Regions from separate parts of the Homo sapiens genome. Here region 1 is linked to region 2. The links are contacts of gene promoters, found by promoter capture Hi-C in blood cells and fetal thymus (Javierre and others, 2016). All regions are on one chromosome and are shown on one strand. Each heading gives the region's core, a stretch centred on a gene start or on the middle of the fragment in contact. The rest is flanking DNA. Distances are from core to core; before and after follow the strand shown.

Evidence for each region. The method cuts DNA at HindIII sites, captures the fragments that hold promoters and counts their contacts. A CHiCAGO score of 5 or more calls a contact.
Region 1: a contact is called between a fragment that was not itself captured here and the fragment with the promoter of JAKMIP2 in region 2, in 5 of 17 cell types (megakaryocytes, fetal thymus, naive B cells and 2 more). The highest score is 7.3, in megakaryocytes.

Annotation. Positions count from the first base shown.
Region 1 is chr5:147,635,164-147,640,301 of GRCh38, reverse strand. It overlaps JAKMIP2 (janus kinase and microtubule interacting protein 2), which reads left to right. Exons shown (of 22, transcript NM_001270941.2): 10 at 542-670; 11 at 3,254-3,337; 12 at 4,018-4,080. All of the region lies in intron 3 of JAKMIP2-AS1 (JAKMIP2 antisense RNA 1), which reads right to left. Among named protein-coding and RNA genes, the nearest start is that of JAKMIP2-AS1, 78 kb to the right of the region's middle. The HindIII fragment of the contact is 5,262 bases long and covers 1-4,867 here.
Region 2 is chr5:147,779,112-147,784,324 of GRCh38, reverse strand. JAKMIP2 (janus kinase and microtubule interacting protein 2) reads left to right here and starts at 1,597. Exons shown (of 22, transcript NM_001270941.2): 1 at 1,597-1,869. The HindIII fragment of the contact is 4,284 bases long and covers 1-2,024 here.

The DNA of each region.
Region 1 (5,138 bases), core at 987-3,486, 140 kb after region 2:
CTCTACCATGCAACTCCTGACTCAGGATCTTAGGAGTGAAACACCCCAGTCTGCATTGTTTCCCAAAATTCCCTGCTGATTATGTTATGTCCTGAAGTTTAAGATGTAATGCAATAAAACAGATTTTATGATTTATCTGGGGGAAAAAACAAGTTGCTGGAGATGAACATACTGAAAAGAAATAAGAAAATTCTAGGGTATCATTTCCTCAAATTTAGGTCCAAAATCTGGATATGACTTTTTCTTATTTGGATCCAAAATTGACTACATTCTAAGCTCAAATGATTAACAATGAGAAATGTATCAAATGCTAAATGCTTCTTTTACTAAAATAAATATTTATGTATTTCTGCAGTGTCCATCTTGAAAGTATTACAGTATTTGTGCCCGTATATACACTTCAGAGCTAAAAATAAAATCAAATAGACTGTTAAACAACCTTTTACTTCTTGTAAAAAGTGGGCAAATGTTAATATTTCACATTGAAAACAGGACCTGAACATAACACAATTGTTTTGGGGCTTTTTTTCTTAACCTCAAGAGTTTAGCAGCTGAAGAATCTGAACTAAGATTTCGACAATTAACAAAAGAATATCAGGCCCTCCAAAGAGCATATGCCCTCCTACAGGAGCAGACGGGAGGCATCATCGACGCTGAACGAGAAGCCAAGGTTAGTGTGTATCTGTGAGAGTGCTCTGAATTAGCGTGCAGCAGTCACAGCATAAAAGCACTGTGGACATAAAAATATCAATAAGACAGCTTTCCCTGTATTCTTCTCTCCTCTGCAGCTTTTGAATTGTTATAGCTTTTATGTCAACAAACCTTGACTCTAGAAACATTAGAACCAGCTTAGATCAATGCTTTTGTTCTTTTAAAGATAGTTGAGTACATAGTTCTTGTTCTTGCTGTTTGAAAACATACATTTTCAAAGCTAGACAATATTGGATTTTGTTAAGCCATTTTTTAGTTTCTTGCTTAGAAAAAGAACTTTTTTATCTTTCAAAAGCAATAGTGAGCCAGTGTCTTCTCTTCGTTAATAAGTGCCCAGCGTTTACGTATGACAACTTACCAGAATTTTCACAGACACTATCTCATTTAACCCTTGAGACAGTCCCCTAAGGCAGATATTTTATAAAAGAGAAATTTGACACTCAGAGAGGTTAATTGAATTGCCCCAAATAGCACAAATAGTAAATGGCAAAGCTGATATTACAACTTAAGTCTTACTGGGTCAAATGTTCTTTCCTTTATATCATAACTGCCTCTCATGAGCCTATTTCAACAAAAAGAAAAGATAGACATGTACTATACTAATTCTTAATATTTATTGAGTGCTTGCTGTGTTCCAGGCATTGTGTTGAACATTTTACACACATTATCTATATAATCCTAAAACAACCCTAGGAGCTAGATATGATTATTATCTTCTTTCTATAGAAGAGGAAATAATAGCTTAGTAGAAGTTAAATGTAGTTTAGTGAAGTTAAATTATTTACCTAGGTTTACCTAGGTTTCCTAGCCTTGTGACTTCACAGTCATAATCACCAGGCTATAATTGCCTCCTAGGTAAATTTACATGAGCCAAAAGGCAGCATGACCACCGAGACCACCCAGTGATTTCATCCTACTTTCTTTCTGGAGGGTCTACAATGCACTGAGGAGTTTTGTAGAACTACTATTGTTCAGTGGGAAAGGGTAGATGTAACGCAGTTATACATTTTTCAACAGTAGCATGCACACACACATATATAAGTAAATAAGCAGGTTTTTAAAAAACACCAATTTAGAACAGGCAAGCAATCATTACAAAGGAATGTGCCTGTAGGCTGTCATATATATGCCCCAGTGCTATAATATTTGTGGTTAAGTGTTCTTACCAACATGGATTGGGGAATTAAAATAATAGCATATTATTTTATTTTTATTTTTTGGAGATTCCTCCAAAAAAAGGAGACTTCTTTTACTTTTTGGAGATTCCTCCCTGTGTCATTTAATTCTTCTACCTAAATAAAGGTTTAGCGTTCTCTCTGACCATTAAAGTCAGGAAAACTTACCATTCTTAGAAAAATAATCTACAAGAAATAAAGATGTTAGAAAAAGAACAACAGAGTAAATTTAAAGAGACTAGAAATTAAAAAATAATACAGATGAAAGCATCGTTGAAAACAAAAGATAAAATTAGGTACAAGAAAAAATAGGTTACAGTCAACATCAATTCACAGTTAAAATAAATCTTAGCAAAATTAATTATTTTTTGGACCTGATAGAGGTAAATGTAATATTTAACAATCAAAAGAATTATTCTCCTCACAATGAATAAGGATATCTTTCATCGCTGTTTTTATTCAACTTTGTACTAAAAAACCTATCCAGATTGTAAAACAACAACAAAAAAATGGGTTTACAGGCAGGAAACAAATTACTAAGCTAAATCACATAGGACAACAAAGTTGCTCCATACAAGATTAGTATTCAAAACTACTTACACACACAGACACACAAAATATGATATATAAAGAGAAAGACAGAGAGAAATTGATTTAGGGACTTAAATTTAGGCACAAAGTTTGCTCTGAAAGAATGGAAAGGCCGGGTGCACTTTGGGAGGCGGAGACGGGTGGATCATCTGAGGTCAGGAGTTCGAGACCAGCCAGGCCAACACGGTGAAACCCCATCTCTACTAAAAATACAAAAATTAGCTGGGCGTGGTGGCCGGTGCCTGTAATCCAAGCTATTTGGGAGGCTGAAGCGGGAGAATTGCTTGAACCCAGGAGGCGGAGGTTGCAGTAAGCTGAGATTGTGCCACTGCATTCCAGCCTGGGCAACAGAGTGAGACTCTGTCTCAAAAAAAAAAAAAAAAAAAATCAAAAGAATTTGGGGAGGCAAAATGGAACAAGGCTTTCATGAAAGAGAAATCATTCAAATAAAGAGAAGAGTGGAGAGTTACAAGGCATATTTAGGAAACAAGAATTATGCCAGCAGGTGAGGGTTTGGCTCTAGGCTGATGAGTAGTAGGAAAAGATTGGAAATATAATGGGAGTTCTCGAATGCCAAGCTAACGAGTTTGAATACTAACCTGAAAATAAAGAATGCTACAGGGAGTTTTAAACAAGAATTTAGATCAGAAAGATTCTTTTGTCATAGAAAATTCTTCTTTTTTTCCTCTCTCTCTCTCTTACTTGTTGAGTTCTAGTCAAGAAAGGTATTGAATAACCATTTTACTTGCTGAGTTCTGGAATTTTGGTTTCACCAGGCTCAAGAACAGCTCCAAGCAGAGGTGCTAAGGTATAAAGCCAAAATTGAAGACCTGGAAGCGACTCTGGCTCAGAAAGGGCAGGTAGGCATTTGGTTGCTAGCTCTTCTGCAGATGCAGACAATTCAATCTGACCTTCCTGTAGCTCACCTGTGCATGGGCCGCACCCAGGACACAGCTTGGCTCTCCACAGTGATCTTTCTCGAACTGCGTTAGAATGTTCAACTCTGTACTTCTGTCTCTGGTGTTTTTCTGGCCAGAGTATGAACCCAGCCACAACAGTGAATGAGCTTGGGCAAGAGAGAGAATGCCAGAGGAAGAGGAACCCTGTACAAATAGCCTAGAGTTGTCATAAGCTGCTAAGACCAAGACCCACCCCTCCAGCTGCGTTCTTTGCCTCTATGCTACATTTATGGTTCTGCATTTTAATGTTTTCCATCCATATGTATCTAGCCTGTGTGCATTCTGACCCTTTTCACTTTTTGCCTGTGTGGTCACTTCTGAGTCCCCAGAAGGCTGGTCCTGGATTATTCAAACTGGAAAAGGTAGAAATAGGGAGTGATGATGAAAAGGGGGTTAAATTTTCCCGGCAACTTTGGCCCCAATTTCTTTGAAGGAGCTGGCAGGGGTGGGTGCTACTTACCAGTCTTTGGCAGGCAAACAAACAGGGTGGGGAGAAGGCAGCTCTGGCAAAGTGGTTTGACAACACAGGCTCTTTCGTGCCACTCTGAAATGCTGACTGCGCGATATTCTTTGTCAAACAGGATTCACACTGGGTAGAAGATAAACAACTTTTCATTAAGAGAAACCAGGAGCTTTTAGAAAAGGTATGTTGGGCACAACACCCTAGCGGGGCAGAGGAGAAAATCATGAGAGATCCAGGAGCAGCAGGGGGTGCTCTCAGGAGTGGCACAGGGGCCAGGGGAAGGGGAGGCTTTTCCGGCACTGCTCTGTCCTCGGCTGCGTGCTCAACCGCATCCCTGTCACCGCCATCACCATCAGTGAAGTGGCACGTGTGCATGGCTCTGCGCTGGGCATTGTGCAGACTTGAAAGGATGTGATCCCTGAAACCTCCTGATTTGCTAACCATATACACTGTATATATACTGTACATATATATATACATACACGCACACACACACGTGCACATCCTGTGTAGTTGTTTATCTACAACAAAACCTCTATGAGGGCCAGGCACAGTGGCTCAAGCCTGTAATCCCAGTAATTTGGGAGGCCGAGGTGGGTGGATCACCTGAGGTCAGGAGTTTGAGACCAGCCTGGCCAACATGGTGAAACCCTGTCTCTGCTAAATACAAAAAATTAGGCAGATGTGGTGGCACATGCCTGTAATCCCAGATACTTAGGAGGCTGAGACAGGAGAATCATCTGAACCCAAGAGGCGGAGGTTGCAGTGAGCTGAGATTGCGCAATTGCACTCCAGCCCGGGCAACAAGAGCAAAACCCCATCTCCAAAAAACAAAACAAAACAAAACAAAGAAACCTCTATGAATAGAACTTGTTATTTTGTGAGAAGAAGTGACAGAGTATGACTCCAAGACCATGCCGAAACCTAGCATAGGCTTAGATTCCCACTTTTAGTCTTTTTATTAAGCTTGAGTCTTTCTTTTTTTTTTAATGAAAGATTTTTTTTAGATGAATACTGTTTTTAAAACATAAAACAGTATTCCTGGAAATTACTCAACAAATTAAGAAACAAAAACATGGCTTAGGCTTGAATAGATATAATTAATTTTGGTTATCTGAACATAGAGTCAATTAAACATAACACATTTTCAGTTCAAAGGTGGCTTTTCCTTTGATATTTACCTTCTACAAATCTAGTGAAAGATTTCAAAATAATTTTTTTTTTTGAGACGGAGTTTTA
Region 2 (5,213 bases), core at 348-2,847:
TTTACACACGTCATCTAGTTTAATTTTTGTAATGACTCATGAGGTTCTGTGATTATTTCTTTTTACAGATGAAGAAACATAGATTTGAGGAAGTTAATAAATATGTTCCAGATTATACCTATAGTAAATACTGGCGCTAGGAATGGAGCCTAGATCGTCTGACTCTGGAACTTGTGTTAAACCCATTTGAACCTGTAAATAACTCTGTGGATTAAGAACAAAGATTATTTCCATTTTATGGAGGAGTGGCAGAAAAGTGTGGTGGTTAGGAGAGCAAATGTAAGTGTTAGAAGAGTCCATTTTGATTCCGGTTCTGTCGTTTATCAGTTGTGAATTTGGGAAATGTATCTAACTCCTCTGAGATTTACAATGTCCTCAAATATCAAGATGTAGAGAACACTTAATCTCTTAGGGCCTCTCTGTCTTTGCCATCATCATCATGGTTATTACGTACTTTGGATTTTCTCATCTTAATTTTTTCTCCTACCTGAAATTGCCATGTTATTCCCCTTAAACCCTTAGATTAAGAGATGGCTGCAATGTACTACTATGCTGCTAATAGTAAATATTTATTGTACACTTACTATATGCCAAGTGCTTTTAGTGCATTATCTCATTCAATCTTTACAACCCCTCCACGAGATAAATACTGGTGTCATCTATAATTTATAGTTAGAAACAGAACTCGCCTAGAACTGGACATTGCTGATTTCACTTCCCCCTTTTCCTGCCCACCACCCTGACTGCCAACTGACTTCGGAACTCCAAAAAGGCATCCATGAAAACGACAGGAATTGCCTGCAGGAAATTGAATGCTCCAGGAGTTTGACACTAAAAAGATTGGGAACTGTCCACCAACTTGTGCTACCGAGAATAGTGGTTGTTGAAAGGAATTTCGGTCTCTATCCAAACTTACTTTTCCTCAGGGATGTGTCAATTACCTCCAAGTCCTGTTCAGAAGGGTAGCTGGAAAAACAGTGAAACCAAGTAACTCACCTGAGAACAAGCCGGGAGTAGTGCAAAGGAATCAACCAGACTCTTAATTTATTACAAAGTCCAGCCACTCCGTTTGCTTTCTAAAAACCTTGTTGCCTGGTATTGAGTAAAAGATGCTATAAAGGACGAACACGTTTGGAAGTAATAATAATCTGCTATTATGCGACATAATTTTCTCCACATTTGTTGTTATTTTTCTGATAATAAATTTCATACTTTTTATTGGAAAACCACAGAAAATGCAAAAAATAGCTAAGCCGTTGGTATGTTTCTATCTAGATTTCAATTAAATTTTAATTATTCTCTCCCCGTGCCTAGCCCCCCTTGCCCCATTTTTAAAAAGACCTGGAGTTCAGGGTAGGAGACATCAAGAGCATCCTAGAGGGCAGCAGCACAAATTCACTCCCCTCCAGACCCTGCAGCTTGCTTCGCCCATCTCCCCTCCCCCTGAGCTTGGTCGCTTATCATTGGTCATTGCCATGGCAACCAGCAGCTGCCGGGCCAGCAGCCTCTACCGCAGCAGGGGTGGGGCACTGGGGGAGGGGGAGAGAGAGAGGAGGAGCCAGAGGAGGTGTCTGCTGCAAGTTCCTGGCTGCTTCCGAGCTCACCCCATCCTCCGAGAGGGAGGAGGCCCAACTGGTGATGCTGCTGCTGCTGCTGCTGCCGCCGCCGCCGCCTCTATTGCTGATACTCTAGTGGGGCTGGAAGGGTGGTTCCTATTCGCACCATCGCCAACCAGAGACAGAGGGAAAAAAAAAACCGGCAGCCACTGCTGATGTTGGGTTCGGAGGCTGCATCCGACTCGGTCACAAGGAAAATGGATTCAGTTTGCATCTCTCCCTCCTTTAAACAGCTTCTCCGGGTCTCAGCATGGTGAGTAGGAAACAGTAGGGCTCCCTTCTTGGTTTAGAGTGTTCTTATTTGACCTGTGTATACATTTCTGGCCTGAACTTGAACAATGACTCCCGTGCCTCAGACTAGAAGGGGGAGATGTGGAGACAGAGATGAGGATGGAGGGAGAGGAAGCTTGCCAGGAAGAGAGAAGTGAGAAGACAACCTCTTGTGTTTAAAAAAAAAAAATGGTGTTCTGATTTTATCTCTAACTGGCTCAGAATGCAGACTGAGCCACTTGGTGCCTTTTTTCCTAAGCTTAGCAACAGCATCAGGGGTTGGAAAAAGAGCTAACAACAAGAAGAGGGTGTTATTGAAAGGAATCATTTCATTTGCAGCTCTCACATACAGGGTTGGGCCTTCTTCAGAAATACATTTGGTGTCTCATAAGCTTACCAGACTCATTATAAGGTGGTTTTGCTTATTTTATTGATTGCTTAGAAAAAGTGGCCCCAGAATTTGACATTTTATTTTATATTCTAATATACTCTTGTTGAGAAATCATTTGCAAGACCCAGTTTTATTTTATACGTAGATTTGACTGTGAACTTACACATGTATATCTTATGGATATACAGATCATATATACACATGTCACTTAGCATTTATATTGCATTTATGAAGCATATTTATATGTAGGGTGTGCTTTGCAACCATTTTTATGGGTTACATATGTCCTTGCATGCCTGGAAGTAATTGCATGTTTTTGAAACTATGCTTCTGGTTTATATTATTATTCATTGGCTTTATTTGGATTAATGTGAAATTTACTCTGGTTATTGTCCCTTAGTTTCATTGTGACCGATTGGAACAGATGCCTATCGTTTGATCTGTGTCATAGAACTAGATGCAAATTTGTAGCCTGCCTCTTTATTTTTAATTGGGTTTGTGGGGGATGATATTGAGGACTCTGAATTTACAATGATGGGAATGGGAGGCGGTTTGTGGTATTATTTTGTGTCTAGCATCTTACCAAATCAATGTTGAAGCAAATCAGTTTTCTTGAAATGCCACCCCAACCTTTTCATGTTTGTGCCTTGTGTCCCAGGAAGCACAGCTAAGCTGGAAGGTGAAATGTATTCATTTTATTTAATAGTGCTGCTATCTGATGTTCATTCCTTCAGTATCCAGGAACCATTTCACAGTTCTCTCAGATGTTGTATTAAGGGTCTCCTTCTGTAAATAATTAAGTAGGAAAGTAGGATTGTTTTGAAAATCTAGGTATTCCCAAGCACCCTAGCCCAGCCGTTTCCAAATTAGTCTGCTTATACAATGAAATGAAACCAGAGAGTGAGCAAAGCGAGCAGGAGAATGTGTGGCTTGTAGCTGAAATGGGGGTCTATTGTAATTTACAAATGCTTACTGGGATCTGCTTGACCTTTTATTATGTCAAGGCTTTAAGGCAGTTCAGGAGACTAAAGATGCGTGAGATGAGGAGGTTCCATTCCCGCCCAGGATAATGGATTTCATTGAATTAAAGCCAGAAAAAATTATGTAGGTAAAGTGTATTAGTAATATTACATTTACCACATGGGCTATTATAGTTTTATCCATTATTCTCTTCTCTAACAATATCATTGTCAGTACAGACATTTTTTACAATGTAAAATAACAATTGTTTGGGTCTTTAGTCTTGCATCTGATTCTACATACACCCCCCACATTTATAATTTTCACATGTATTTGAACCAGGTTTATAGTTTAATTTTGCTGAGAATAATTGTTCTATTTGGTTTATACATGAGAAGGGCCCTTGGTGACTCAATTGTGCATGTGCTCATAGCATGTTATATATTATAGATCCATAGCTTTGTAAACTCATGCTACTTTGTGCCTAATTTTAACAACTATATGAAGTAGGGCAAGGAAAGAGGTACTGGGCTTGTATGTTATAACAAATTGTATAACACATTGCATCCTGAATCTTTTAGTGATAACACTTGACTTCCAAAAATTAAAATGTTAGATATGCCTATAGCACACTTAAAAAATTAAGATTTGTACTAGTTGACCCCATTTCATGCAATGAAAGCAGATATCCTGGGGCTTTGTTTTTGTTTCTTTTTTTTGAGTTTTCATTTGGAGGTGGTTTTATAGGCAAAGTTGGTACAGTTTGAACAGAGGCAAATCCCTTAGGCCATGTGCTTAAAACTCCTTGTAGATAGCCTGTTTCAGCTATGTGTCAGCTATTACCCTGATAGAAATACAGGTCTAGCTTTTGACCCCACTATTTAAGACAATTATATGGCCTTTGCTAAGGGGCCATAGAAAAGTGAAGTGTGTTTCAAGCACTAGAAGTTGAACTCTCTGAGGAAAGATTTTTAAAAGCTAGGATCATTTCATTTAGAGAAGAGAAAAATGAAATATGGCAATCGTTTGTTTCAGATAAGCTAAGCATGGGGCATAAGCACAGGACATTGCTTATTGCTATTTTTTGGAACCTCAAATGTAGTCAATGGGCTTCAACTTTATGAGGAATTATGAAGATGAGAAATATGCAAATGTAGAAGTTCCTCATAGTAAGTGTGAGTAGTCAACTGGCTAATCAGATAAAGCAATGAATTCTTCTCTCATCAAAACCTCCAAAAGTATGACCTAGATATGCATTTGTCTAGGATGTACTAGATTTCCTTCTCAAGAACTTCTCTTGCTTTTTCTAGAGTGAGTCATTTATTTGAGAGAGTACATTAGTTGTTTAAGATAAGACACTTCTAGGTTATAACAGTAAGACTCCATTTTGTAGTTGACTTCTAAATTACAGGTTCTAGGTATTTGTAAAGAAATCAGCTGATCATCTTCTTAGAGAAATTTACATGTAATCCTGCCAGAATTCAGGAAACTGAACATTTACCTGTTCATAAGAGCCCTTCTTTCTCAGCAGCTTTATGGAGTATGATGTCAAATACCTATATTAAAATTATTTCATATTGTATAGTTAATTTTGAAAAATGTACTGTGTTATTTAATGGGGTCTTTGTACAAAGTAATTCAAGGGCCATCAAGTTGTTTTTTTTAAAAAAACAAATTATATGAAAGGTATATACAAATTAATGTTTAAATGTGCTGTTTAACAAACTAATCTTCCACTCAAATGCTATCTTAAAAATGTCATTCATGTTAGAATATTAAAGTTAAATATTTTGATTGGTATGTAAGTCTTTAGTAAAACTTGTTTTAATTAAGACACACTAATTAATTTCTCACTTTGTAATAGGATGTTTCTTATTTCAAGTGACATCAGAACATATTTTGATTTTATGTGCCTGCTACAAGTCCGCTTCAGGATGACTTAGGCAATATTTGGAGAGTCTAACAGTTTTCTACAT